Regions from separate parts of the Homo sapiens genome. Here regions 1, 2, 3, 4, 5 and 6 are each linked to region 7. The links are contacts of gene promoters, found by promoter capture Hi-C in blood cells and fetal thymus (Javierre and others, 2016). All regions are on one chromosome and are shown on one strand. The core of a region is centred on a gene start or on the middle of the fragment in contact, and the rest is flanking DNA. Distances in the headings are between cores, read along the strand shown. Region 1 has its middle 88 kb from the start of LANCL2. Region 2 overlaps VOPP1 (VOPP1 WW domain binding protein). Region 3 overlaps VOPP1-DT (VOPP1 divergent transcript). Region 4 overlaps VOPP1 (VOPP1 WW domain binding protein). Region 5 holds the start of VOPP1 (VOPP1 WW domain binding protein). Region 6 overlaps VOPP1 (VOPP1 WW domain binding protein). Region 7 holds the start of MRPS17 (mitochondrial ribosomal protein S17).

Region 1 (4,388 bases), core at 1,680-4,179, 500 kb after region 7:
TAGGTATTTTATTTTCTTTGTAGCAATTGTGAATGGGAGTTCACTCATGATATGGCTCTCTGTTTGTCTGTATTGGTGTGTAGGAATGCTTGTGATTTTTGCGTGTTGATTTTGTATCCTGAGACTTTGCTGAAGTTGCTTATCAGCTTAAGGAGATTGTGGGCTGAGACAATGGGGTTTTCTAAATATACAATCATGCTGTCTGCAAACAGAGACAATTTGACTTCCTCTTTTCCTAATTGAATACGCTTTATTTCTTTATTTCTTTCTCTTGCCTGATTGCCTTGGCCAGAACTTCCAATACTGTGTTGAATAGGAGTGATGAGAGAGGGCATCCTTGTCTTGTGCTGGTTTTCAAGGGAAATGCTTCCAGCTTTTGCCCATTCAGTATGATATTGGCTGTGGGTTTGTCATAAATAGCTCTTATTATTTTGAGATATGTTCCATCAATACCTAGTTTATTGAGAGTTTTTATCATGAAGGGCTATTGAATTTTGTCGAAGACCTTTTCTGCATCTATTGAGATAATCATGTGGTTTTTGTCATTGGTTCTCTTTATGTAATGTATTATGTTTATTGATTTGTGTATGTTGAACCAGCGTTGCATCCCAGGGATGAAGCCAACTTGATCATGGTACATAAGCTTTTTGATGTGCTGCTGGATTTGGTTTGCCAGTATTTTATTAAGAATTTTTGCATTGATGTTCATCAGGGATATTGGCCTGAAATTTTCTTTTTTTGTTGTGTCTCTGCCAGGTTTTGGTATCAGGATGATGCTGGCTTCATAAAATGAGTTAGGGAGGATTCCCTCTTTTTCTATTGTTTGGAATAGTTTCAGAAGGAATGTTCCCAGCTCCTCTTTGTACCTCTGGTAGAATTCGGCTGTGAATCTCTCTGGTCCTGGACTTTCATTGGTTGGTAGGCTATTAATTGCTGCCTCAGTTTCAGAACTTGTTATAGGTCTATTCAGGGATTTGACCTCTTTCTGGTTTAGTCTTGGGAGGGTGTATGTGTCCAGAAATTTATCCATTTAGAAGAGAAAATTTTTAATGTTCCTAGCACAAGAAAAAGATAAATGACTGAGGTGAGAGCTATCCTAAATACCCTGGTTTGATCATTACACCTTGCATAATTGTCTCAAAATATGACATATACCCCATAAATGCATATAATTGTTATATGTCTATTAACAAAATTTTAAAAATAAGGACTGGATGTGGGTGATGAATAAATGAGGATTTGGTATACTATTTTCTCTACTTCTTATGTTCAAAATATTTTATAATAAGTTAAAATGAATAATAAAATAACCAAAAAAGATCTCAAAAACTACTATATTTTGTACATTCATATTACAGGCACACTTTATTGTACTTCGCTTTATTGCTCTTTGTAGGTATTGAGTTTTTTACAAATTGAAAGTTTGTGACAACCCTGTATCAAGGAAGTCTATCAGTGCCATTTTTTTCCAACAGCATGTGCTCACTTTTTATCTCTATGTCTCATTTGGTAATTCACATAATATTTCAAACTTTTTCATTAATAAATAACTGTTATGGTGATCTGTGATCAGTGATATTTGATGTTAGTGTTGTACTATAGGGTGCCAATAACTCTGCCTATACAAGATGGTGTACTTAATCAATAAACGTGTATTCTGACTGCCTTACCCTCCATTCCCTCATCTCTTTCCCACTCTCTTCCCTGACACACAACAAACAATAATGAAATTAGGCTAGTTAGTAACCCTACAATGGCCTATAAGTGTTCAAGTGAAAGGAAGAGTTGTATGTCACTCATTTTAAATCAAAAGCTAGAAATGATTAAGTCTAGTAAGGAAGGCATGTCAAAAGCTGAAACAGGCTGAAAGCTAGGCCTCTTGCACCGGGTAGCCAACTTGTGAATGCAAAGGAAAAGTTCTTGAAGGAAATTAAAAGCGCTATTCCAGTGACACACAATGCTGATATAGTCTTCAATTCTATGGAGGCTGAAAGAGGTGAGGAAACTGCAGAAAAAAAGTTTGAAGCTAGCAGAGGTTGGTTTATGTGGTTTAAGAAAAGAAGTCATCTCCATAGCTTGGAAGTACAGGGTGCAGCAGAAAGTGCTGATGTAGAAGCTGCAGCAAGTAATGCAGAAGATCTAGCTAAGACCACTGAGGAGGGTGGCTACACTCGACAACAGAGTTTACATGTAGACAAAACAGCCTTCTACTGGAAGAAGATGCCATCTAGGACTTTGTAGCTTGAGAGGAAAAGTCAGCGCTTGTCTTTAAAGCTTCAAAGGACAGACTAACCCTCTAGTTAGGGGCTAATATAGTTGGTGAGCTAAGTTGAAGCCAGTGCTCGTTTATCATTCTAAAAATCCTAGGGCCCTTAAGAATTATGCAAAATCTACTCTGCCTTTATCCTATAAATGGAACAACAAAGCTTGGATGACAACACATCTTTTTACAGCATGGTTAGCTTAGTGTTTTAAGCGCACTGCTTCTCAGCAAAAACGATTCCTTTTAAAATATTATTGCTTATTGACAAAAGACCTAATCACCCAAGAGCTCTGATGGAGACATAGAAGATTATTGTTGTTTTCATGCCTGCTAACACACATTCATTCTGCAGCCCATGGATCAAGGAGTCATTTTGACTTTCAAGTCTTATTGTTTATGACATACATTTTGTAAGGCTATAGCTGTCATAGATAGTGATTCCTCTCATGGATCTGGGCAAAGTAAATTGAAAACCTTCTGGAAAGGATTTACTATTCTAGATGCTGTTAAGAACATTTGTGATTCATGGGAGGCAGTCAAAATACCAACATTAACAGGAGCTTGGGAGAAGTTGATTCCAACCTTATGGATGACTTGAACCCCTTCATGGAGGGGTTCAAGACATCAGTGGAGGAAATAACTGTGGATGTGGTGGAAATAGCAAGAGAAATATAATTCGAAGTGGAACCTGAAGTTGTGACTGAATTGCTACAATCTCATGGTAAAACTTTAATGGATGAGGTATTTCTTCCTATGGATGAGTGAAGAAGGTGGTTTCTTGAAATGGAATCTACTCCTACTAAAGATGCTGTGAATATTGTTGAAATTACAACACAGGATTCAGAATATATCATAAACTTAGTTGGTAAAGTAGTGGCAGGGTTTGAGAGGTTTAACTCCAATTTTGAAAGAAGTCCTACTATTGGTAAAATTCTGTCAAACAGCGTCGCATGCTACAGAGAAATCTTTCCTGAAATAAAGTCAATCAATGCGGCAGACTTCATTGTTGTCTTATTTTAAGAAATTGCCACAGCCAGTCCAACCTTTAGCAACTACCACCCTGATCAGTTAGCAGCCGTCAACACTGGGAAAACACCCTCCACCAGCAAAAAGATTATGACCCACTGAAAGCCCAGATAACCGTTAGCATTTTTAGCAATAAAGCTTTTTTGTTTGTTTTTAGACAGAGTCTCGCTCTGTCGCCCAGGCTGGAGTGCAGCGGCACGATCTTGGCTCACTGCAATCTCTGCCTCCTGGGTTCAAGTGATTCTCCTACCTCAGCCTCCTGAATAGCTGGGACTACAGGCACCCGCCAGCACGCCCAGCTGATTTTTGTATTTTTAGTAGAGACGGGGGTTTCACCATATTGGCCAGGCTGGTCTCAAACTCCTGACCTTGTGATCCGCCCGCCTCTGCCTCCCAAAGTGCTGGGATTACAGGCGTGAGCCACTACATCCGGCCACAATAAAGTATTTTTTAATGAAGCTATGTACATTGTGGCTTTTAGACATAATGCTGTTGTGCACTTCATAGACTACAGTATAATGTAAACAACTTCTATATGTAGTGGGCAACCAAAAATTTGTATGACTCAAACTTTATTGCAATGTTCACTTAATTATGGTGTTCTGGAACTGAACCTGCAACATTTCCCAGGTATTCCTGTACTTCAGGCGTTTCTTTTGCCCCCTACCCCATAACTTTTTATTGTAATGTTCCTGTCTCAGATGGGCTGTGCGGAAGTGTCCAGAAAGGATCTCGTTCCACTCCTGTGCCTGTGTGGAAGGGGCCCAGTGCCCTCCTATAAATGGTGTGGTGGGTGCAAGGATGATTGTCAAGACACCCCCTACCCGCAAGAAGAAGGTGAAGGGAATTAGATTTGAGTCCTGTTGAATCTCCTCCCTAGGAGATCTCCCTCTGATGCCAGCCCTGAAGATCCAGGCTTCACTTTTACAAAAAAAGATGTATGTTCTTGTGCAGGTCTCAAGAGTATAATGAAGGAGGAGCAACGTGGCTTGGTCTGTTTTCAACAGTGACAGGAATGTTGGAGAGCACTCTCTTTGTCTTTCTCCCTGGACTCCAGAAATCACAAACAGTGCTGATATCATTTGCCACAGACCTAGTA
Region 2 (4,168 bases), core at 102-2,601, 410 kb after region 7:
AATTCAGGGGTGGTGGTGGTCGTGGTGGTATCACTTATTTCTTGGCGGGGGAGCACAATATATTTGTATATTTTTTAAATCAACTTTTAATTTTGGAATAAGTTTAGATTTATAGAAAATTTGCAAAGCACATTTGCAGAGCAAATACAGAGTTGCTGTATAACCCAGTTTCCACTAATTTAATAACTTACATTGCCATGCTGCATTTGCCTAAAAAGGAAACCAACATTGGTATATTGCTATTAATTAAAATTGCTTTATTTGGATCTCTCCAGTTTTTCCATTAATGTCCCTTTTTCTGTTGGGAGATTCAGTTCATCATGGCGTATTGATTTAGGCTCATTTCAGTTTTGCCAAAACTTCTTGCATCCTACCACCTCACGGTCCATAGAGCATATAATTCCGCCTTTCCCTTAAGTGTTCTCTTTGTACAACTATTCTCAACTTAGTGAGCTACCTGGGAATTATATCTTCATTCATGGGTCAGATCCTGTCTACATCTCCCTCGACTGTCTTGTAACTCAGGAGATGGCACCACCTGTGCCCTCCTCATGACTGAGTCCTTGTCTTCTAGCACAGGCCAGAGCTGTGGAGTGCTTAGTGAGTATCTGTGAGCTGATTGAACAGCTGGGCTTAGTAAATCCTTCCGTTTTTTCACTTTTTCTTTTCTTTATTTTATTTTTTTTAATTGAGACAGGGTCTCATTCTGTCACCCAGACTGGAGTGCAGTGGTGCAATCACGGCTCATCGCAACCTTGACCTCTCAGGCTCAGGTGGTCCTCCCACCTCAGCTTCCTGAATAGCTGGTATTACAGGCATGTGCCACCATGCTAATTTTTGTATTTTTTTTTGTAGAGTTGGGGTCTTGCTGTGTGGCCCGGGCTGGTCTCAAACTCCTGGGCTCAAGGGATCCGCCTACCTCAGCCTCCCAGAGTGCTGGTGTGAGTCACTGCACCCAGCCAAATCATTCCTTTTTAAACACAAGAGCTGCAGCTCTCCACAAATGACAGATCTGTGAGCTTCCATGGGGCTTGCCAGACAGGGAGCCTTAGGCACAGAGCACGAGCAGGCAGTGTTCAGCTCAGTGGATCCCTCTTGAGTCCCGGTGGATGTGTAACCAGTGTGGCCCGCAAGCTGTGATTCCAACTGCAGTCACGCCTGTGTTATTTTTCTAGTCATACTGGAGTGTAGTCATACCTGTGTTTATCCTAAGGTGAATTCAGCCATGCATACTGGGCCAGAAAGAGGATGGGGAGAGCAGGCTTCTTCCCTCCTGGCTGCGCCTCTGAGTGCCTCCCTCCTGCCATGGGTCAGTTGTGTGCTGCTTTGTCTGGGGCTGGTGGGATCTTGACATCAAGACAGGCCTCCCAGGGGAGAGCAGCACGTTCTTGGACCTCACAGCACTGGGGGCTTCAGTGACTCAGTGGGATGCCCCTCCTGATGAAAGAGTTTTCTTCTCCTAGCGTGGTCTCACCTGTGCCCCTTTAAAGAAATAGTGATCACAGGGAACATTGACCATAGGTGACTTTTCCTGTATTTAACAAGTTTATTTCATTTTTAAATAAAGTAATATATGTATATAAATGGAAAGTTTAATAATGTCACAGCTTAACACAGTCTTCCCCATGCCCCACCGTTGTGGTCTGCTTCTCAGAAGAACTACTTTCAACTCTTATTTAGCTGGTTCTTCTACTATTTGCCTCCACATTTTAAAATAATACACATACCTTCTAGCTCTTGATTTAACAGTGCTAGACATTATTTAATCTCTCTTCCTCTATCCTCTCAGTATATATGTTTATATCAGTACCGATTACACGAAAGTAAAATGTATTTAAAATATCTGGTTAAATCCACATTTAGTATCATCATTATTTTGACTACGTTTTGCTGACTGTTGAGCCAGTGTAGAACACTAAAATTGCGCTTTTATTGGACAACTTTTTTTATTTTCCTTGAGTTCAAAATGGCCTCGTGGTTTCATTAGCTTAGTTTATTTCAGATGTTTGCTTGAGTTCCACGGTCTCCACCAACTCTGCTCTCCACCAACTCTGCGGAAGCCTTCAACAACACTCTCCAGAGTTAAATGTTAGATTACATTCGTCAGTTTCAGTTTCCCCTCTGGTGAGGTCCTCCCTGAAACCCCCACTCTTCCACACCAGTTGGAGCTGTGTTCTTTTTGGGAAGACCCAAAAAGAAGTTTTCAGCACATTCCAGTATCAGAAAGACTGTTTTCTTTTCAAGAAACACTATCTTTTCTCGCAAGTTTTTTTCATCCGATGGACACCATGATGTTGTGACTAACAGCGTTCCCCGTTCTGCCTTGGCCCTCAGGAGCCTGGAGCTAAGTGTGGGGCCATCTCCTTCCCCCACCAGCCCTACTGCCCCAAACCATAAAAACCATGCCATTGTGTGCATTTATTTTGTTCCAATTTCATCATATTTTCTTCTTCTTGTGTCGCTTTTGGTCAGCTAAAATCTTTTAAGAATGTGTTTTACAGATTAACACAGAAGCATGCTGGGCCACACATTTACAGCCAGTTGATTTTTGACAAAGGGGCTGAGAACATCCATTGGGCAAAGGACATTGTCTCTTCAATAAATGGTGCTGGGAAAACTGTACATCCATATGAAGAAGAATGAAAGTAGACTTCTGTCTCTCGCCATGTACAAAAATCAACTCAAAATCAAAGACTTAAATGTAAGACCTGGAACTATGAAAGTATTATGCTAAAATAAAACTTTGGGGAAATGCTTCAGGACATTGTTTTGGGCAAAGATTTCTTGAGTAAAGCCTCAAAAGCACAGGCAACCAAAGCAAAAATTGACAAATACGATTACATCAAGCTAAAAAGTTTCTGCACAGCAAAGAAAACAATCAACAAAGTGAAAAGACAACCCACAGAATGAGAGAAAATATTTGTAGGCTATTCATCTGACATGGGATTAATAACCAGAATATATAAAGAGCTCAAACAACTCAGTAGCCAAAAACCAAATAATCTGATTTAAAAATGGGCAAATTATTTGAATAGACATTTCTCAAAAAAAAAAAACCATGTAAATGGCCAACAGGTATATGAAAAAATACTCAACACCGCTAATCATTAGGGAAATGCAAATCAAAACCATGAGATATCACCTCATCTCAGTTAAAATGGCTATTATCAAAAAGACTGAAAATAAATGGTGAGGATATGGCGAAAGGGGACCTCTCAAACACTAGTGGTGGGAATGTAAGTTAGTACTATGGAGAGCAGTATGGAGGCTCTTCAGAAAACTAAGAATATGGAACTACCTTATGATCTAGCAATCTCATTGCCAGGTATTTTAAATGGACAAAGGATTTGGACACACATTTCTCCAAGGAAGAACATGAGCATATTGAAGAGATATTTGTACTCCCATGTTTGTTACAGCACTGTTAATAGCCAAGATAAGGAATCCACCTAAGTGCCCATCAGTGGACACATGGATAAGGAAAATGTGGTTTTATATACACAATGGAATATTATAAAGCCATAATAAAGAATAAAATCCTAGGCTGGGTGCGGTGGCTCATGCCTGTAATCCCAGCACTTTGGGAGGCTGAGATGGGCGGATCATGAGGTCAGGAGATCGAGACCATCCTGGCTAACACGGTGAAACCCTGTCTCTACTAAAAACACAAAAAATTAGCCGGGCGTGGTGGCAGGTGCCTGTATTCCCAGCTACTCGAGAGGCTGAAGCAGGAGAATGGTGTGAACCCGGGAGGTGGAGCTTGCAGTGAGCCAAGATCACGCCACTGCACTCCAGCCTGGACAACAGAGCGAGACTCGTCTCCAAAAAAATAAAAATAAAAAAACAAAAAAGAAGAATGAAATCCTGCTAGTTGCAGTAATGTGGATCAATATGGAGAACATTAAGTGAAATAAGCCAGGCACAGAAAAACAAATATTGCCTGTTCTGTATTTTTTTTTTTTTCTTGGAGATGGAGTCTCGCTCTGTCTCCCAGGCTGGAGTACAATGGCACGATCTCGGTTCACTGCAACCTCTGCTTCTAGGGTTCAAGTGATTCTCCTGCCTAAAGCTTCCCAAGTAGCTGGGATTGTAGGCATGCACCACCACGACCGGCTAACTTTGTATTTTTAGTAGAGACGGGCCTTCACCATGTTGGCCAGGCTGGTCT
Region 3 (3,924 bases), core at 483-2,982, 360 kb after region 7:
GTCAGGGTCACAGCCCCATAAGCCCACCCAACACAGACTCCCACAGGCATATGAGACCCTCTTCCTCCCTACAGGCTCATCTGTTGGCACCTCCCTAGGAAGAAGGTCTCTGCACCCCTATCCCCACCTCGAGCACTTCATGCTGTCTAATGCCTTATGGTATTAGCCACAGGGTATCTCTCACTTTCTCTCTGGACTCCAGATCCCATGCATCCTCCCAGGATACCCCATTCCCAGAGCCTCCCTCCCAGGCATCCCCCCATTCCCAGGCTCCCCACAGTCCAAGATCCTTACTCACAGATACCCATATTCCCAGAAACTTGGCTGCCCTGACTCTCCTTTCCCCCCACACTCCCCATGTGTACCCTGCAGAACAAGTGGAGGGCACAGAGGGTCTTGAAGAACAGGGATGCAGCCCCTGCTTCCAAGACACCTTTAGTCACTCCCTACTGCCCTTGAGGACAATGGGATACACATAGAAAGTCTAGCCTATAAGGGGAGTCCCCTGGTCCCCTTCCGTTCAAGGACAGGGTGGAAAGCCTCACTCCAAGGATGGTTGGGAGCAGAGACTCCTGGCCGCAGAGGAGCTACAACTCAAGGAAGTCACAGGAAAAGAGGGGGGGTGCAGCTGAGAGGGGTGAAGGGAATTCTGAAGCAGGGCCCTGGAGCTGTCACTCACCTGACACCCGGCTCACCCTGGATTCCTGGAGATCCTGACTCTCCTGGCTCCAGGAGCAAAGAGATTGGGGTCAAAAACCTCATTGCCCCCTCACAAAATCCTGGTATTTCTCACATTTTATTCTCTTTTGTCTCCTCAACAAAAAATTGGCAGAAATCCAACTGTCATTCCTCATCCACAAGACTGGTCCCCTTCATCCCTTTCCCAATTACCTTCTCTCCAGGGGGACCCAGGGCCCCAACACCTCCCAGGGGATCTTGTGGACCCTGAAAGAGGAAGAGAAATAGGTGACATCGCTTCAGGAGGTGGGGTTATTGCAGGGGCAGAGGCCCAGATGAGCATCCCAAGGTTATGGCAGTGGGACAGTGGGGGCCTCCCAGGGGAAGGGGCTTCTCAGGGGCGAAGAGTTTATGATCTGAGGAAAGGGACGCAGAGGATCAGACTCATTGCTCTGAAGTGGCAGGGGCTGGGATGACTCACACCAGTGCCACTGGGTCCAGGTAGTCCCTGCAGGGGAACAGATACACCAGAGGTGGGGAAGGGAAGTGAAATGGCACAATGAAGGAGTGTGGAGGGAGGAAGAGCAGTCAGGGCAGGGAGGCAGCAGTGGGGTGGGGGCTGGCCAGGCAGGGGTGACCATTTGGGGTCTGGGGTCAGTAGGGGTCACATTCACCATAGGACCCACATCTCCTGTTTCTCCCTTCTCCCCAGAGGGACCTGGCACACGCTATGCAGGTGCAGAAAGCATGGACCCAGGTGACCACCCACCCAAAGCACAGCCCTAGACTGATGGGTCCCACAGCCCCTCCACTCAGACCCCACATGGCCCCCAGGCTTCTGCCCCCACCAACCCAGTCCTTAAAGCATGTTGCTGGCAGGGTCTGGGACACACATCACCCCATCCTGACACTGCCTCTCAGCCCGTCCCCAGCCGCATCTCACCTATAGATTCATGAATCCTGTTCTACCTTTATTGCCTTTGGCTCCCCACACTCTGGCTCCAAAGTGTCCCTGGGGTCCCTGAGCTCTGGGCTCCCAATCTGCTCCCTGGGGAAGGAGAGAAGCAGGGACAAGGACATAGACATGGGTCATGGGTCAGGCATTCTCTATTCACGAACCCCATACATAGCTGGGTACCAGGCCCAGAGACCCCACTCCCAAACCCAGCCTCAGGGGCAAAGGGGAGTTGAAGGCAGAGCAGAGGCTGCCAGGGCCTTGCGTGGGGGCCGAGGGTTCACTCACCACTGCTACAGGCTGTTCCATGGACCAGTGAGTCCAGGGGGTCCAGGAGGGCCCTGGGGGAGAGACGAGAGTCAGAAACACCAAGGCAGGGAGGAACCAGGAGGGAATGAGGTTAAAGGCCAGGGCGTCAAGGTCATGGACACTTTGATGCCCTTCTTCCTGGGGTCCCCCACCTCATCCTGGAGGAGAAGGCACAGGAGATACCAGAGGGAGGAAATGATAGAGCTCAGGAGTCAAGCCCACCTCAGCCCTCTCATGTGGAGAGAAGATTGGTCGGGTTCTCTGGGGTTCTCCTCTTGGTCTCCATCTTCTCCAGCCACACCTGGAGGCCCAGCAGGACCAGGAAGTCACACAGGACTCTGCACCCTATCACAGCCAGGCAGACAAATGGGGCCCTTTTCACCCTGTGGGGCAGGAAGGAGGAGTCATGGCCTGGAGGTGACCCTCACCCTCAAACACCCACAGGAAACCTTTCATAGCCCATCACCCCTCAGCCCACAGACCCCTCCCCAAGAACCACTCCCAAGGTCCCCACTCTCACTGGGACACCTGTCTCTCCTGCTGATCCAGGGGGTTCCTGAGGGCCTGGGCACCCTGGCGGGGGGCAATGGGTCCCTTGATCCTGCTGCACCTCACTCCCTAGGGGGGAACCCTGAAAGTTGAGATGAGTGAGATCCCCAGGGAGGAAGACCCAAGCCCACTCATACCAGGGCCCTCAGAGCACAATTCCCAGGAGAAGAGCCCCAAATCAGCTGCATTCTGGCTGACTCTAGATTCCCTCTGCCCAGTCCCACAGCACCTGCGTAGATCTGGATGCCACCTCCACCCTGCCTCAACACCCCCTTTCCTAGTTCCCTCCTCCCACTCCCCAGGAACCCCAGGCTCCCTGCAGGGTAAGGGGGCCAACTGGACCTCATTCCTCTTCAAGCTGGGTCCACACTCTGAAGCAGAGATTTGGGGAAGGTGGAGCTTCACAGAAAAGAGAAGGGTGAGGGCTGGCGAGAGGAGATAGGTTCAGAGAGATGGGAGTGGGGAGTGGCATGGAGCAGGGTCAGGGTCAGGGAGGGGTTCAGGTCACTTGGTCCTTGGTCCAGGCAGGGCTCTGGGAGTCACACTCACAGCAGTGCCTAGGAGGCCTCTCTCTCCTGGGAAGCCCCTCAGACCAGGAACATCCTTCCCTTGAACCCCATGGACACCCTAAAAGAAAAGGAGAGGTGAGGAGCGACAGCCATCCGTGCTGCCAAATTAAAAAGAGAGATTTCTGAGCCCCCTCAAGTCCCCAGCTACCTGTTCCAGACATGCGAGCCAGAGGCAGGGGTGTGTGACTGAGAGAAGAGAGCCAGACAGACTTAACTCCAGGGTCTGGGAGCCGTTCTCTCCTGGGAACAGACCTAGCTGAGGTCCCACCACATATGGGGGGCCACGGGGGCTGCTCTCCCCTTGGAAACCCTGAGAGGAAAAGGGGGGAGTGCAGTGGGTGCTGTAGGGTAGATGCCTGGGCTCCAGAAGAGGAACAAGGTCACATCAAGCCTCGGCCCGTGGGTGTGGACAGCATTAGGGCAGGCTCTGTTCTGCTCAGAAAATGTCTCTGTGGGCCTCCCAGACAGCTTTGGCATTTGAGGGGCCTCCTGAGAATTGGTGGCCAGGGGTCTCCCTCACCACCTTTCCTCTCTGGCCTGAGTGTCCCGGCAGCTTGTCATTCCCAGGGTGCCCTGGAAGGAGTCCAGATGTCAGGTGAACTCTGGGCTGGAAGGAGGCAGGGAAGGACTCAGAGAACCAGGGGTGGGTCAGAGCTCGGGTGACAACTCACCAGGGGCTCTTTGGGGCCAGGAAATCCATTGGGACCCTGAGTTCAGGGAGACCCTAGAGACAGAGGTAGACAGAGTCAGGAGAATGGGGCAGGTGCTGGGCAGGGGAACTCAGCTTCCTCCCTGGGGTGAGGAAGGAGCCAGCACACCCAGTCTCCTTCTTCCTAAGAGTGAATTTTCTCCAACTCTAGTGCT
Region 4 (3,903 bases), core at 1,371-3,870, 440 kb after region 7:
GAAAGGCAGGGACAACTGGAAGCAGGGAGAGGGCTTCCAGGTCACAGGTAGGTGAGGGACAAGTGGTTGCATTCTTTTGAGTTTCTGATAAGCCTTTCCAAAGGAGGCAATCAGAATATGCATCTATCTCAGTGAGCAGAGGATGACTTTGAATGGAATGGGAGGCAGGTTTGCCCTGAGGAGTTTCAGCTTGAATTTTCCTTTTAGCTTAGTGATTTGGGGATTCAAGATATTTTTCTTTCACATTCTAAAATTTTAAGCTGTGCTCCTAAACAAATTTTTAATAATTCACTTGGTAGCAAGAACATATTTGAGCAGACATGAGGCTATTTATAGTCTTTAAAAGTTCCGTTTGGTATGATGTTTCATATATTTTAATGCTGGCTGTATTACATGGAGTGAATTTGCAGAAATTGAATTGCTGAATCAAAGCTTATACTTATATTCTACTAAATACCGTCCGACTGCTCTCCCTGAGGGTCATCATGATAATAGGCTATCATTGCCTGGGAGCACCTGTTTCAAACTGTCCCCGCCAGCACTGTGTTAACATTTTAATCAGTTTCCTTTGTATGCTTTGAGTTCATATTGTTTCCATCTTTGCTGATTTCCCTTTCTGCTGCAACATCCCTTCTGTTTAAGTCAAAACCTTTACAAGGTTCTGAAACCAAGGTGGATACCTGGACTATGCATAGAGGAATGAGATGGGGTTGCTCTCAAGGTCATGTCTGGTGTAGAAGACAGAGGCCTCTAACAGTTAACCACAATATTGCACATGGTGAGAACTGTAGAAATGGGGGTCCTGCCAAGGGAGGAGCAGGACAGATTGGGGAGGGCAGGGGATGGTGTTGGGAGAGACCTCACAGGGCTGATCTTTGAAGCGGGGTGGAGCAGAGACTTTGGGAGGAGTGCAGGCATGGGAGCATGAAGGTGCAGGGTGCAGTGGGGACCATGGGGCTGGAGTTCAGGGTGCCTGGTGGATGGCAGGAGATGAGATGGGAAAAAGAGGGAGAAGCCTAGCAAGAAGAGTCTCAAACGCCGTCTGAGGGGCTGAGACTCCCTCCTGCATGCAGCATTGTGGCAGGCCAGGTCTCACCAACACAGGCCTCCATAACAAGTGTTTCAGTACTGACTGAGTGGTTAAGTTAAATATTAAAAGCTAAAAAAAAAAAAAAAAAAAAGCCAGTGCCCTTATATAAAGTCTGGGATGTAACAAAAGCCCACCAGGAGTTTTGCCTAGGCCTTTCCTGGGCCTTAAAGCATGACAAAATAATGAAGGAATTCTTAACATGACCCATTTAGGATTAAATAAGTTTTATTTGGTGTCTGAAGAAACTCCCCAGGCCTCCACAAACAAGTTTATTGCGGTCTGAATGAACTCCCCAAACCTCTTGTGATTTAGTAGGAGACAAGATAAGGGTAATCACCCCAGCACCTGGACCCATTTAGATTAAGTGAATTTACTGAGGCTCCAGAAGAAGGCCTTGAGGACTCAGACATTAGTTATAATGTAAAAGAAGTTAATCACTTATGTCTTTAGATGATGCACACTTACAGGTAGACATATAGCTTAGAAGGTATATAAGCTCTGGAAAACTTTGTAATTTTGAGTTGGTCTGGCCATAATTTCCAGGCCTTCTACCAGTAACTGGTTGCAGAAATAAAAATTCTCTTCCTCCCCAGTTCATCTGCATCTTATTATTGGGCCACAAGAAATAGCAGCCTGACCCTCATTTTGGTCTAGGAACAGTATGACGACACGGTCCTCTGGTCTAAAGGGGAGGAGGTTGTGTTTGTAGTAAAGGCAAGACAGAGTCCAACTCCTGTAGAAATAGGGCAGAGGAACAGGCGGTGGGCATGAAAAGCATCTCACAGAAGAGTCGATATAGAGGTAAAGGGAGTCAAATAAATCAGAGGTTTCTGGTTGGGAAGACAGAGAGAGACCATGAAAAGAATAGGTTCCGGGAAAGATTCAATAGAAGACTGAGCAGAGAATGTCATATATGCATGTGGAGTTTGGAGTTCTTGCAGAATACCCAGGAAATGGAGCCAGTGAGGAATTCACTTTTGCAGCAGAGGTGGAAGAGGGCAGGATGTAGTCCAGAGCTGGAATGTAGACTTAAGAGTTCTGAGCATTTGCTTATAACAGCTAACCAGCTGCTATAGTCTGAATATGTGTGTCCTTACAAAATTCCTATGTTGGAACCTAACACCCAATGTATTAGTATTAAGAGGTGGGGCCTTTGGGGAAGTGACTTAAGTCATGAGGGCTCTGTCCTCGTGAATGGGATTACAAAAGAGGTTGCAGGGAGCTCCCCTGCCCTCTTTTGCCCTGTGAGGACACAGCAGCAAGACATCATTTATGAAGCAGGGAGCCCTGACTAGATACTGAATCTGCTGGGCCTTGATCCTGGGCATCCCAGCCTCCAGAACTATGAGCAATCAATTTCTGTTGTTTATAAATTACCCAAGCTGTGGTATTTTATTATAACAGCCTGAATGGACTAAGACCAACTCAAGTAAAAATAGAGCTGAGAAAGTAAGCCAGGTGTGAACCTCAGTGTAGGTTTCCAGATTTTTTAGGTACTAGAATCTCATCTCCCTTCCTGATCTCATTGCCAAACTCAGCTCATTACTTTAGTATTTATCATGCCTGTGTGATTTCAATGATAGGAAATTTATTATAAAATTAAAATTGATAATAAATTTGAGACAGGGTCTTGCTCTGTCACCTAGGCTGGAACACAGTGGTGCAGTACTAGCTCACTGCAGCCTCAAACCCCTTGACTCAAGCGATCCTCTCACCTCAGCCTCTGAGTCGCTAGGACTATAGGCATATGCTACCACGTCTGGCTAATTTTAAAGATTTTTTTATAGAGACAGGATCTCACTATGAACTCATAGGCAGACTTCTGAGCTCATAGGCAGACTTCTGTTTTTCACTTTAGTATGGAAAATGAAAAACACCTTCCAGAGAAGGTGGTTTCTGGTAATAACTGTTTCTGAAAGAGACATATGGCCAGAATTTATTTTTTTAACCTTATATTTAGTCAACCAGAAACTAGGAGGATTGTTTTTCAGGATAGGCTTGAATAGAACTAATTTTAAATGATCAGCAGTTTACTGAAAGGAGAAAGAGGGAAAACCTCTACCCCAGAAACACAAAGGTGGAGTTTCAAAAACTCTGGGCCAGGTGCAGTGGCTCACACCTGTAATCCCAACACTTTTGGGCTAAGGCAAGAAGATCACTATGGCCAGGAGTTAGAGACCAGCCTGGCAACATAGTGAAACCTCATCTGTAGAAAAAATTTTTGTAATTAGCTGGGCGTGGTGGTGTGCACCTGTATTTTTAGCTACTTGGGAGGCTGATGTGAAGGGATCACTTAAGCCAAGGAATTTGAGGCTGCAGTGAGCTATGATTGCAGCATTGCACTCCAGCCTGGGTGACACAGTGAGACCTTGTGTCAAAACAAACAAAACAAAAAACTCCGTAGTTACCAAAGTTCAGCAGTAATTTAAGAGCTTCTTGGTCCATCTTACCTCACCTCTTCACTTTAACTCTGGGTGCATCTGGGCTCCAAGGCAGCAGCTCCTCAAGGGTTAAAATGGCAAAGAAATGAGCACTTTTTACCCCATTTGGTCTGCTAATATTAGTGATTTTAGTAAGTATTTGTAATGCTTTCTCCCATGGTAGAAATACAAGTAAAATTTCCCTAGGTAAATCCTGTATGCCACCCTGAATGCAACTAGTTTGGGTTTATACAAGTCAGAGAAGGTATTTTCTGGTGATAACTGTGTCTCTGAAGGAATGATTGACAGGGCAGCCATCTTCCCACCCTCAACGTCTCGGGCTCAGGCCTCATCAAAGCAGTGATGGCCCCCTCCTTAGAACCCAGAGATGTT
Region 5 (3,972 bases), core at 1,233-3,732, 380 kb after region 7:
CGCCCCAGGCCGGGCCTCGGGTTCCGGGAGCCCGCAGGCGCGCGCCCGGCCGGGCGTGTCGGGAGCGCGCGGCGGCCGGGGGCGGAGCGCAGCCAGGGCTGCGCGGCGCGCCCCGGCTCCCGCCCGCTCCCAGCCGGGCCCCCCAGCGGTCGGCGGGACGGCTCCCGGCTGCAGTCTGCCCGCCCGCCCCGCGCGGGGGCCGAGTCGCGAAGCGCGCCTGCGACCCGGCGTCCGGGCGCGCTGGAGAGGACGCGAGGAGCCATGAGGCGCCAGCCTGCGAAGGTGGCGGCGCTGCTGCTCGGGCTGCTCTTGGAGGTAGGGGCCGGGGACCGGGTGCTGCCGGAGGCGCGGCGCCCACCATGCTGGCGGCTGGGGGCGCGCAGTTCCGAGGCGCCCCAGAGGACCTTGCCTGGGAGCGCAGACGGTGGAGCGACGGGGAGCCACAGCCCTGCGCGCCTCCCGGAGCTGGGAGGTGCGGGACCCTGGTGACGGGGAGGCTCCCGCCCCGGTCCGCGCCTTCCGTCGTTCCTTCGGTTTTCGCACCCCGCCCCCACCCTGCGGGTGAGCGCGTTTCCCGCGCCGACCGCCTCCGTTAGCTCGGGGTGACCTTTGTGCACCGTCCGCCCCCTCTCCCCGCCGCAGAGGGCCGAGGATCGGATGGACCCGGGGTTGGGCGGGGGTGGTCCTCGGGCGCGGCGCAGGCGCGGAGAGCCCGGGGCGCCGGGCAGTTTGGGGTTAGGAAAGGATGGGTGCCGAGCCGGGGTGAGGGGAGCGGGCGGAGGGGACTGTGGGGAAGTGTCGCGGGAGTGCCGGGAGTTGTGGAGGTGAGCAGCGGGAGGAGGCGTTCCCGCGTGTGAAAATGAAGTGCAGCCTTTAGGTGCGGGGAGGAAATTCTGCGGAGAGCCTGGCTGGGTGGGGGTGCGGAGCCGAAGCCGGCGGGGAACTTGTTGAGCGGCTTCCGGGTGCGAGCGCCCGTGACCGCATCCCTGGCGGGGACCGCGGCTGCTCCTGGCTGTGAAATTGCATCCTCGGATGGGGCCACATACTTCTCACTAAAGCAGGTTCCTTAAAATGCGAACTAGAGGAATTCTGGGGTGTCCAGTCTGAATCAGGGCTTGTTCAACTTTCTCCTTAGTTTCATTATTCTGAAGGAAATTTGCGTTAAATTAATGAAGTCAAAAGAAATAGGTAATGAATCCCATGCCTCTGTTTTAGGAAGTTGTGAAACTATCTTCCTTAATAGTTAGTGATTGGTGCTGGAAATTACTAGTTTGTCTTCGCCCTTTATTAAAAAGTAATTATTACAAAATGTTGGAGGAAAAGTGTTTCCTGAAAGGAAGGCTGGTGGACAAATTTCTCCTTGCTCCAGGCTCTGCCATAGCCGAGACTTCCTGTTTCTGTTCGGAAATATCCCCGTAGCTTGGTATTTAATGTTTTTGTGGAGTGCCTCTGCTTGCATTCTTTCCATTTATTCAGAATTTTAGAACCTTAGGAATCACATTCTCTGAGTGACTCACCATAGAGAACAAAGAAGTGAATCAGAGACCAGTAATCGCATGAAAACAGATGTGCTTGTACCTTAATGTGTGTACCTATACTTGCAATCTTTATTTTTTATTTTTATTTATTTATTTCTTTAGTTTTGAGATGGAGTCTCGTTCTGTGGCCCAGGCTTGAGTGCTGTGGCGCGATCTTGGCTCACTGCAATCTCCGCCTCCTGGGTTCAAGCTATTCTCCTGCTTCAGCCTCCCCAGTAGCGGGGACTACAGGCGCCCACCACTATGCCCGGCTAATTTTTGCATTTTTAGTAGAGTCGGGGTTTCGTCATGTTGGTCAGGCTGGTCTCGAACTCCTGACCTCAGGTGATCCGCCCGCCTCGGCCTCCCAAAGTGCTAGGATTACAAGGTGAGCCACCGCGCCCGGCCCTGCAATCTTTTTTAATCGGCACTTGATGAAATTATTTAGCGTTTCTTTCATTCTAGTTTGTGCCACCCATGTCTCCCAAGCCTTCTGTCTGAGTGGTTCTGTGCCCTATATGTAGCCTAGACGGCCTCAGTGACTCCATTCTTTCCAAAATAGCTGTTTCGTTGCATAGGAATGTATCCTCTTAATAGGAGTTCAGATCATGTCTGCAAAGTTGAAACGACCTTAAAGGCAGAAGTGTGATGTAAAACTGAAACCTAAATGCCTAAGATGATACTTTCACAGTCAAATATTAGATGATTGTTTCAGAGGGGACAGTGTGATGTCACCCACTTTGACATGATGATTATCCTAAGTACCACCACTTTGTGCTGGAGAGGCGTCTCTCTGAGGAGTTAAGGAGATTTCTTCATCATTTATCACATGAAATTTTATGTATGAGATTTATATTTGAGATTTTTTCATCTCTGGTGGGGTGCTCTGATGAATACCTGTGATGCTTCTGAAGTCCTGAATCACATACATGGATGTGCAGTCGTAGGTGTGGAGCATGTGCCATGGCAAATGGCTCTCTTCAGGTTGAGTGCATAAAAGCAACCCAGGGAGCTATTTGGTGGCTTCTGGCTTCTGACTGCCGGCTGCAACCTGGGAAATTTGTCTTTGTTCCTTTGTTCTGCCTGAGCTGGTTTCAGTGTATAAATTTGCCACGTGGTTGATCATAAACCACCTGAAATTAAGGGGTGGCCTTGTGGCAGTGGTGACTCTGTTCCCACCCCCAGCACCCTGGCCCTATCTAGCACCATCCAGAATCTCACATGCGCAGGGGTTTCTGTGTTAGTGAGAGGTCCTTGAGTAGGAAGGGCAATCCAAAGACTGTTTTGAGAAGTGCTTTCCTCCCCTGCCTCACCATCCCTTTGTAGAAATTTACTTACCTGTTAGACATAGAACTGCATATTTATGTTTGCTTACTAAACATTCATAGAGTGCTCCAGGGTAACTGCCAGGCACTGTTCTATAAATGTTACACGTTATCTCATTAATCCTGCTAGCAATTACTTTTATCTTCATTTTTGTTTCAAATGGGAAGTGAACACTTAACACTGCTGTTAAGTGTGAGGGCTTAAGATGCTAACCCAGGCAGTCTGGTTCCAGTGTGTACCCCACCTCGATGCTCTGCTTCCTCTGCCGTCTGCGCACACAGGAACATGTTAGGAATTTGCATGCTCTACATCGCGAGGGCAGTGGTGGCCCTGGAAAGTGTATTCCCCTTAGAAACTCAGTCACCCTTCCTTAGAAAGACCATGTGATTTAGCCTACAAACGGTGGCACTTTGAAGAGTGAAATAGGATGTTGTTAAGAGCTGTGCCTGGACAGTGGGCATCACCAGGACTCTCCTGAGAAACCCTGGTTGTGTTCCCCTCCTGAAGCCCAGGTAGGGCTTCAGGGAGGAACCGGCAGCAGCTGACAGCACCATCCCTCTCCTAGGGAGGCTTCTTGGAAGCTCATTACTGGACTGACCTTTCTTTTCTATTAACTCAGAGTTTCCTGTGAATTACATGCACAGCCAGTGAGGGCCCTGATTTTATCTCCCTCTCCCCTGTTGCTCTGTGCCAGCTGGTTATGATCCAGGGACCCAGGCCACGAATGTGGCAGATTCTAAGGGTGGCTAAGAGTAGGGAACCTCAGAGGCCTTTTTGGTTCATAAAATGCTAAGGTTCTATGCCTTTGTTCCGCCAGCTGGCTGAAGTGAGGTCCTGCAAACAATCCTTACAGGAAGAGTGAAAGTACTAAGCTGTCTCCTAGTAGCCCTGCTGAAGTTATTCTCAGTGGCCTTCACACAGTAACTCCTTAGAAACTAAAAGGAAAAAAAAAGGTTTTAAAACTGACTACACTTCAGTTGAATCCCGAGAGTAATGAGGCCCTAAGCATATGCACCTCCCTGGGGCTTTTTGTTGTGTGCATTGTTTTCTAGATATTGTCACTGCATTCTCTTTCTAGAGGTTTGGTTGGTTACACTTTTGAAATCTACTTAGTATTTGTTTGAAGGGC
Region 6 (4,351 bases), core at 390-2,889, 460 kb after region 7:
TGCTGCAGAAAGGGTACTGCCAGAAGAGAGCGCTCAGGTGTGTTATTCATTTTTTTAGTTCTGATGACCAGCTCCATTGTGCATTTGTGCAGATAACAAATGTAAGGTATATCGCACGCCCGTCACCTCATATTCTTACAGTTATCAGTGTGCCACATATGCACGTGATATGATGCAGTTTGTATAAGCGTATTATTTGCTCTCTGCCCTTTTCCTTAAACATTATTTCACATATAAATTTCTGTGTAGGAGCGGTAATACCCCTGCCATTTTTAGTGCTTCTGGACTAGATACTAATTATGTTACTAAATGGTAATTTGCTTAGATATTTTATTATTGCTGATAATTTGTTTTGTTTTCTCATGTTTTGTCTTTTATTCATGCATTCAACAAGTATTCATTGTGCAGTTACTAGTATTCCAAATACTTACAAAGACCATAGCAATAGACATTCTTGTACAGGTCACATGTAGTCTGTTTAGTGCATAACACCCAAAGTGACATCCCAGGGTCAAAATGAATTAGCTGTTTCTTAATTCTTGTAAAACATTGCCTTAGCCATCTAAAACTCCTACATACTGTGGTGGGTGGTGTGGACTTCCTTAGGACACAGGCCAGGGAGCTCTCTGATGACAGCGGGGAGCCAAGGGTCCTGGAGGGCTGGGCTGGCTCGGCTCATCAGAGCGCTGGTCTTCTGGCCAGGTGTAGAGTGAGGCTGGGCAGAGGGGTGTTGCTGATGTCTGCACCGCCATGCTCCCAGCCACAGTTTCCACCTGGGAGCCTGGGGATGGGACTGTCTATTGATTGCACACTGTGGATAGGTGGTCAGTTCTAGGAGCAGTGGATGCCTTCGCTTTTACAAAGTTTCAGTTAAGAAAAATGAATAAGTCCTAGAGATCTATTGTACAGTGTAGGACCTACAATTAATACAACTGTAATGTATAATTAAAATTTTGCTAAGAGGGTAGGTCTTATGTTAATATATGTTCTTATCACACAAAAATAACAAGAAGAGCAGAGAAAACTTTTGTAGGTAATAGAGATGTTTATGGAATAGAGCATGGCTATGGTTTTCTGGATGTGCCCCTGTCTTTAAACTCATCAGGTTGTAGGTCTTAAACATGCACAGCTTTTTGCCTGTCAGTCAGACCTCAATAAAGTGGTTTTTAAATAGGAGAGAAGTAGAGGGATTGAATGTAATAGGAGAAAATTATCTTCTCTCTTCTGTTTTCCTGAGAACAGGCTGTTATCAAGATGCAAAGTCATTTGCATATTTGTTCTTTTACAGCTTTTTTCCACCAGATACTCCACAGGGTTTTCCTTTCAGAAAGAATTTTCTTTATTTTAAAAAATGTTGCTCAGAAAAATATATATTTTCCACAGCAGTTCACTGAGAGCTGTGCCTTAAACTTACAGTCAGGTTAGTACCATTTTGAATCCGTAAGTGGATTTTAGCCTTTGATATTTGGAAATATTTGAATCGTTTCAGATTTGTGCTGCATCATAGGGTAAAGTGCAAAATTTCTGTTAAAATGAGAGATGAAAGCCGCCACTCACTGGGTCTCATCTGGATCAGTCAGAGAGGTTTTAGTACAGGGAGGAGCAGCCCCTGCCCCACTTGGCATGGGAGGCCCCACTGCCCCCAGTGCAGAAGGCCACATGTCCCTGGTCCGTGGTCCTGGCCGAGCTCAGAGTCTACCACTCATGTGAACTGGGGCTCTTGTGGTGAGTAGGTGAGGTGCTGAGACTGTGCCTGCAGCTGCATAATTCTTTTGAACCCTGGCATGCCAGGGTTTTGAGAAGAGAATGCATCCCTATGTGCACTCCTTTCTGGTCCCATCCCTCTGTTCTGCACAGCCCCACACCCCACCTAACCCCGCTCCATCTGTCTGGGAGAATCCCCAGCAACCAGGCGATTAGATCTGCCACATCCCTTATCTCACCCTGGAGCAGTGCCTGCTGGCCACTGGTCTCCACCAGCTCCTCTGTCTTCCACTTGGCTATCAGAAGGGTCTTAAAAAACAAAAAACAGAAGCACATCGGCCGTGCTATTTTTCTGCGGCAGGGTCTCTGCCAGCTCACCTGGCTCACAGTGTAAGTCCACAGTCCCTAGCTGAGGACTGAGGACGCATTCACAGCTTCCTCAGACCCATCCCCGCTCCTCTGTGTCCAGTTTGAGCGACCTCCTCTCTCTAGTCCTGCATCGCACTGAGGCCTGCACACGCCCTCCTTCTGCCTGGAAAATGCCTTCCTCCAAGGTGCTGCTCTGTGTTGTACCCATAGTGAAGTTGTCTCTGGCTGCTTCACATCTCCACTTTCTCCCTGGGTCCCCTGCCAGGGGCTTTACCAGCTTTAATGCTCCATGTTTACACTGGGCTCCCCACGGGGCTGTGTACAGGACTCATGGTCTCAGGCACCAAGTAGATGCCCGGCCCTCATCCTCAGGCTGGATGAACTGTGGGAGCTCCCAGGTTTGCAGCCTGGTAAACCAGGGTCGGAATACATCACAACTACAGTCACAGCCTGGAGCGCAGACCTGCCTGAATTGCTGTCTTGGCCCATATTTACTGCACACCTGCTGAGGCGCCTGCAGGAGCTCAAAACACTGCACAGCCTGGACACCTGCCCTCAGTCACCGCTGCATGCACAGCTCCAGCACCCGTGTGAGCTTTCACGCAAACAACTCTATAGTGACTGACCATCATGAGTGCGAGGGAGAGAAAGTTGAGAATGCTAGGAAACCATGTAAGTAGGAGACTCCATCTGGTGCACAACTCCAGGAAGGCTTCCCACGGAAGAGCCATTTGGATTAAGAATAAGTAAGCCCCCAGCTCTCTACAGCGAGTGGCTGCTGGTCCCAGCGCATCTTCTCTGACCAAAATGTAGACTTGGTTTGCCATCCGTTTTTCATTTTATACTTCTTGCAGGCCTGCAACGGTGTGGCTGATCCCAGGATATCCAGACTGTCATATGAAAGCAGGCTCCCAGGGCTCCCGGTAGTGTACAGTTTCCATCATTTCCCTGTCAGGTCCAGGGCTGGATCATTTGTTAACAGTGCTGAGCTTGGGAAGAATTCAGCTGTTTCCTAGACAGAGTAATAGTGAACAAAAGAATGGGGTCTGCAGGGTCCTGTCTGCTGTTGGTCTGGACACCTGCCTCCCCTGAGGGTGGCTTCACCCTGCTGCAGCTGTCTGCTCAGATCCCAGACTATCTGTGGCATGGGCCCTGGGGGCGTGGGGACTGAGAGGAGGGCCACACAGAGTTTGGCAGTCCAGGGAGAGAGAGGAGCCGAGGAATCCCAATGTCCCATGTGGTCCACAGGGTAAATGTCATGCCTGAGGCTGTCCGGGCAGTGCCAAGGTGTGCAGGCATCTGCACAAAGCAGGGTGGGTGTTAGTGAATTTTCAGCAGAGCCCCATTTTTCCTCTGCTGGTCTGAGAGGGGAAGTGGGTTCAGGCGTGGGATGCCTGTTAATGAAGATGAAAAAGCAGAGGGATTTAGAGGACCCAGACTCACCCACTGGGGCAGGGGGGGCAGTGGCTCATATTCTGGGGTGTAGGGGGGCTCGCATGGCGCTCCTGCTGGGACCAGCATCACTGATGAGCATGGGAAAGCAGAGAATCTGTGCATTGCAAAGAGGCTTCTGGTCGGGGAGGGGAGGAAATTGGCAGCATTGTGGTCCTGGGGGTTGGTGTGGGTTGGGGCAGAACTCTGAACGTGGTGGAAAGGGGCTGGCAAAGTCAGCAGGAGGCTGAGGTTCAGAGGTGGGGCTCCAGGCCAGCCCAGGAACCAGGACCCAAAGGCTGCAGCTGCTGGCCGAAGGGCTCAGGGCCTGGCCGGGTTGTGCAGAGGCTGGAAAGTGGGAGGAGTGTGGAGTAGCTGTGGTTTGAGGAAGAGGCCCTGGTCAGGGAGTTAAGAGGCCTGAGGTCTGTGAGACCCAGGGTAGGCCACGGTCCCTTCTAAACCTCAGCACCTTAACTGCAAAATGAAACGGTGTGCAGAAAAGCACTCCTCATTCTGTGTAATCTATGCATATAGTGTCAGCCAAGATGCAGCAGCAGCAGAAAGAGCTCCCTAAATGCCCAACCCCAAATCCTTCCCCATCAGGATGCTGGCAGGGTCCCACCAATATGTTTTCCTGGGTAGAGAGGAAAAAATTGTCTTCATTCATTTATTCACTCACTCTGAAAACATGAGCTAACTAGCTCCAGCCACTGTGTTCACACAGGTGGAGGGTGTGGGTGAGAATCCTCCCTGCTCTTTAGGAACTGTAGAACGGTGGAGAAAATGTAAAAGCCTAGGCTGAGGCAGCACTGTAGGCCTGGGGGAAGGAAGGGCTGGCTGGCTGGCT
Region 7 (3,753 bases), core at 544-3,043:
TTGTATTTTTAGTAGAGACGGGGTTTCACCACGTTGGCCAGACTGGTCTCGAACTCCTGATCTCAGGTGATCCAACCGCATCGGCCTCCCAAAGTGCTGGGATTACAGGTGTGAGCCACCTCATCCGGCCAGTACTTTGCATACAGAATGACTACAGCAGTTAGAGTGGATTGACATTAACTGTTTTCTTGGAATGTGTAAACCGTGTTATACCTACAGACCAGCAAAATGCCTGGCTCAAAGCAGATGAGAGACAAGACATCTTTACTGAGAGATAAATGTTTTTTTGCTTAGGACCCAGGACATGGTGGTGATTTACCAAAGCCACCCGGAAACAAGAATGTTTCTCACCTTTAATAAATAGGGATCCAGAACAAGCCTGGTCACTCTCACTTTAGCAGTCTTTTGCATTTTTGTCCCAATCACCTTCCCCACAATCCATCTGGCATGGACGGATGAGCGAACTACGGACATTACGTGGCTTTGGTCACCTGAAAAGCAAATTCCAAAGTCTCATATTCTGGTGGTTATGATGCCACATGAATTTTGTCACAAGAACTGTCCAGGTTAGTCCAGAAACAGTTTTTTTCTTTTTCGTTCCCCCCTCCACCCAGAAACAGTTTTGTTTTGTTTTTTTTTAGATGTAGTCTCTCTCTGTCGCCCAGGCTGGAGTGCGGTGGTGCGATCTTGGCTCACTGCAAACGCCGCCTCCTGGGTTCACGCCATTCTCCTGCCTCAGCCTCCCGAGCAGCTGGGACTACAGGCGCCCGCCACAACGCCCGGCTAATTTTTTTGTATTTTTAGTAGAGATGGAGTTTCACCGTGTTAGCCAGGATGGTCTTGATCTCCTGACCTCGTGATCCGCCCGCCTCGGCCTCCCAGAGTGCTAGGATTACAGGCGTGAGCCACCGCGCCCGGCCATATGTATTTTTCTTTAGATGAAGTTTAGTTCTTTCGCCCAGTCTGGAGTGAAGTGGCGCGATCTCGGCTCACTGCAACCTCCGCCTCCCGGGTTCAAGCGATTCTTCTCCCTCAGCCTCCCGAGTAGCCGGGACTACAGGCCCGCACCACCACGCCGAGCTAATTTTTGTATTTTTAGTAAAGACAGAGTTTCACCATGTTGGCCAGACTGGTCTCGAACTCCTGACCTCAGGTGATCCGCCCGCCTCAAGCCTCCCAAAGTGCTGGGATTAAGAGGCGTGAGCCACCGCGCCCGGCTTGAATCACCATTTCAGAGATGCTTACACGTTCCCCACTACCCAACCTCTCATCTTTACAGCGCTTACAAAGCGGTAACTTTAACTTCGCCAAGCCTCACGTTCCCCTTCTGCAAAATGGGCAGGCCTATTTCGCAGGAGTGCTTTGAGAATTTGACCCACAGAACGCTCAATACCACGGACAAACGCTGGACGTTACTGGTCCCTTATCTCTCTCCACCCCGCTGGGTCGCCTCTCCCCACAGGCTCAGTGCCCAGGTAGCACTCGGCGGGGCCGCCGCGGTGTCCCCCTCCCCGGCCCAGCGACGGATGACTTGGGCTGCTTTTGAGATCAGTTCACAAGCCATTCCACCAGGCTTCGGAAAGGTTGGGGTGATTCGTGCCCTCGCCCCAGACAACCCCGAGGTCAGACGAAGCGATTCGCTCTCAGGGCTCTCACGCGAGGGTGCCTTGGGTCCCCAGCAAATCCTCCCCCGGCAGCAATACCCCGGAGCCTGCCCTCACCTCCACCACGAGACTCACCTCCGCCAAGACTATGCAGCCACCTGCCCCGGGGAGCGCCGGTCGCAGCGGGATGGCGTCACGCCGTACGCATTGGCTCAGTCCCACACTACCCCTCTCGTAGGCCGTGCATCTCCTTAGCCGTGGGCGGAGTTAAAGGCAGGACCCCGCCCACTCTCCCTTAAAGGGACCCGCGGCGGTGGCGGGGTCGGGGGCGCTGACCTCTGGTTTCCTAACGCGCGCAGCTAGTGGACAGTGGCGCAGGAGGTTTCGGACTTTTCTTTCATTCTTTTGTTTTGTTTCTTTTTTTTTTTTTTTTTTTTGAGACGGAGTCTCGCTCTGTCGCCCAGGCTGGTGTGCAGTGGCGCGATCTCTGCTCACTGCAACCTCTGCCTCCCGGGTTCAAGCGATTCTTCTGCCTCAACCTCCCAAGTAGCTGGGATTACAGGCGTGCACCACCATGCCCAGCTAATTTTTGTATTTTTAGTAGAGACAGGGTTTCACATGTTGGCCAGGCTGGTCTCGAACTCCTGGCCTTAAGTGATCCAACCACTTTGGCCTTTCAAAGTGTTGGAATTACAGGCGTGAGCCACCGTGCCTGGCCTAAAAGTGTTTTTTTTTTTTTTTTTTTTGAGACAGGGTCTCACTCTTGTTGCCCAGGCTGGAGTGCAGTGGCATGATCTTGACTCACTGCAACCTCTGCCTCCTGGGTTTAAGGGATTCTCCTGCCTCAGCCTCCTGAGTAGCTGGGACTACAGGCATCTGGCACCACGTCCAGCTAATTTTTTTTATTTTTAGTAGAGACGGGATTTCACCATGTTGGCCAGGCTGTTCTTGAACTCTTGGCCTCAAGTGATCCACCTATTTCGGACTCCCAAAGTTCTGGGATTACAGGCATGAGCCACTGTGCCTGGCTGGTCCAGATTTACCTATACTTTCCCTGACCAGTTATTGTATCAGAAGTTTTTCAAACGAAAAATATCAGTGGGGAGTGGTACTTAGCAACAAAGCTCTGAGTGCTAGGTGAGCAACTTGCTACTGGGATTTTCCTGCCTGTAGGCTATTTCAGCAGATGTAGCTATCGATACATTGAAACATACACACACGCACACACACACCTACCTTTAAACAGCAGTGGGTTTCTTTCTTTTTTGGGACGGAGGCTGTCTCTGTCGCCCAGGCTGGAGTGCACTGGCGCGATCTCGGCTCACTGCAAGCTCCGCCTCCCGGGTTCACGCCATTCTCCTGCCTCAGCCTTCCGAGTAGCTGGGACTACAGGCGCCTGCCACCAGGCCGGCTAATTTTTTGTATTTTTTTTAGTGGAGACGGGGTTTCACCGTGTAAGCCAGGATGGTCTCGATCTCCTGACCTCGTGATCCGCCCGTCTCGGCTTCCCAAAGTGCTGGGATTACAGGCATGAGCCACCAGTGGGTTTCTTCTTTTGCTTCACCAGTTCCGTATTTTTATCTCCTTTCTTCCACAGTTAGAACTCTGGTCCCTACCCCGACAACATCAATGATTAATGCTAAATCCTATAGTATACACTATATGCTTTTGGAGTTGTACTAACAATATCCCGACTAAAAACAAACTTTCTAAGTGATGCGTGAGATTATTTTTTGTGGTTCTTTTTGTCCTTAGAGTGTACAATGACAGCACTGTGTTCAACATTTCTTGGGATTCTTTTTTTTTCTTCTGTGTGGTTGTAACAATATTCTATACAATTAGATTTTTTTTTTTTTTTCAGACGGAGTCTCGCTCACAATCTCGGCTCACTGCAAGCTCTGCCTCCTGGGTTTACGCCATTCTCCTGCCTCAGCATCCCGGGTGGCTGGGACTACAGGCACCCGCCACCACGCCCGGCTAATTTTTCTTGTATTTTTAGTAGAGATGGAGTTTCACCGCGTTAGCCAGGATGGTCTCCATCTTGTGACCTAATGATCCGCCCGCCTCGGCCTCCCAAAGTGTTGGGATTACAGGCGTGAGCCACCGTGCCTGGCCTTCATTTTTATATGTTTGTATACAATTTTGTATT

The links. The method cuts DNA at HindIII sites, captures the fragments that hold promoters and counts their contacts. A CHiCAGO score of 5 or more calls a contact.
Region 1: a contact is called between a fragment that was not itself captured here and the fragment with the promoter of MRPS17 in region 7, in 4 of 17 cell types (naive CD8 T cells, total CD4 T cells, fetal thymus and 1 more). The highest score is 5.9, in naive CD8 T cells.
Region 2: a fragment that was not itself captured here is called in contact with the fragment with the promoter of MRPS17 in region 7 in 1 of 17 cell types (monocytes); the score reaches 5.3 in monocytes.
Region 3: a contact is called between a fragment that was not itself captured here and the fragment with the promoter of MRPS17 in region 7, in 10 of 17 cell types (neutrophils, monocytes, fetal thymus and 7 more). The highest score is 13.8, in neutrophils.
Region 4: a contact is called between a fragment that was not itself captured here and the fragment with the promoter of MRPS17 in region 7, in 4 of 17 cell types (monocytes, neutrophils, naive B cells and 1 more). The highest score is 7.0, in monocytes.
Region 5: a contact is called between a fragment that was not itself captured here and the fragment with the promoter of MRPS17 in region 7, in 9 of 17 cell types (naive CD8 T cells, fetal thymus, total B cells and 6 more). The highest score is 11.1, in naive CD8 T cells.
Region 6: a contact is called between a fragment that was not itself captured here and the fragment with the promoter of MRPS17 in region 7, in 1 of 17 cell types (naive CD8 T cells). The highest score is 6.2, in naive CD8 T cells.

What each region holds. Positions count from the first base shown.
Region 1 is chr7:55,450,846-55,455,233 of GRCh38, reverse strand. It overlaps a transcript of VOPP1 not described here. Among named protein-coding and RNA genes, the nearest start is that of LANCL2, 88 kb to the right of the region's middle. The HindIII fragment of the contact is 1,001 bases long and covers 2,429-3,429 here.
Region 2 is chr7:55,542,589-55,546,756 of GRCh38, reverse strand. All of the region lies in intron 1 of VOPP1 (VOPP1 WW domain binding protein), which reads left to right. Among named protein-coding and RNA genes, the nearest start is that of VOPP1, 28 kb to the left of the region's middle. RefSeq lists an enhancer at 668-827. The HindIII fragment of the contact is 5,440 bases long and covers 1-4,071 here.
Region 3 is chr7:55,588,705-55,592,628 of GRCh38, reverse strand. VOPP1-DT (VOPP1 divergent transcript) reads right to left here. Exons shown (of 17, transcript NR_187585.1): 5 at 3,732-3,924; 6 at 3,209-3,633; 7 at 2,471-3,118; 8 at 2,165-2,325; 9 at 1,922-1,974; 10 at 1,648-1,726; 11 at 1,160-1,186; 12 at 892-945; 13 at 680-722. Among named protein-coding and RNA genes, the nearest start is that of VOPP1-DT, 18 kb to the right of the region's middle. The HindIII fragment of the contact is 8,588 bases long and covers 1-3,924 here.
Region 4 is chr7:55,507,849-55,511,751 of GRCh38, reverse strand. The region is part of intron 2 of VOPP1 (VOPP1 WW domain binding protein); the gene reads left to right. Among named protein-coding and RNA genes, the nearest start is that of VOPP1, 63 kb to the left of the region's middle. RefSeq lists an enhancer at 645-694. The HindIII fragment of the contact is 4,371 bases long and covers 435-3,903 here.
Region 5 is chr7:55,568,614-55,572,585 of GRCh38, reverse strand. VOPP1 (VOPP1 WW domain binding protein) reads left to right here and starts at 84. Exons shown (of 5, transcript NM_030796.5): 1 at 84-315. The coding sequence starts at 262. RefSeq lists silencers at 1-830, 3,416-3,710, 3,858-3,907 and an enhancer at 1,031-1,090. The HindIII fragment of the contact is 5,325 bases long and covers 1-3,972 here.
Region 6 is chr7:55,487,862-55,492,212 of GRCh38, reverse strand. All of the region lies in intron 4 of VOPP1 (VOPP1 WW domain binding protein), which reads left to right. Among named protein-coding and RNA genes, the nearest start is that of VOPP1, 82 kb to the left of the region's middle. RefSeq lists an enhancer at 3,364-3,864. The HindIII fragment of the contact is 8,751 bases long and covers 1-4,351 here.
Region 7 is chr7:55,949,917-55,953,669 of GRCh38, reverse strand. MRPS17 (mitochondrial ribosomal protein S17) reads right to left here and starts at 1,793. Exons shown (of 3, transcript NM_015969.3): 1 at 1,740-1,793; 2 at 352-491. The coding sequence starts at 474. RefSeq lists an enhancer at 1,681-1,740. The HindIII fragment of the contact is 16,512 bases long and covers 1-3,753 here.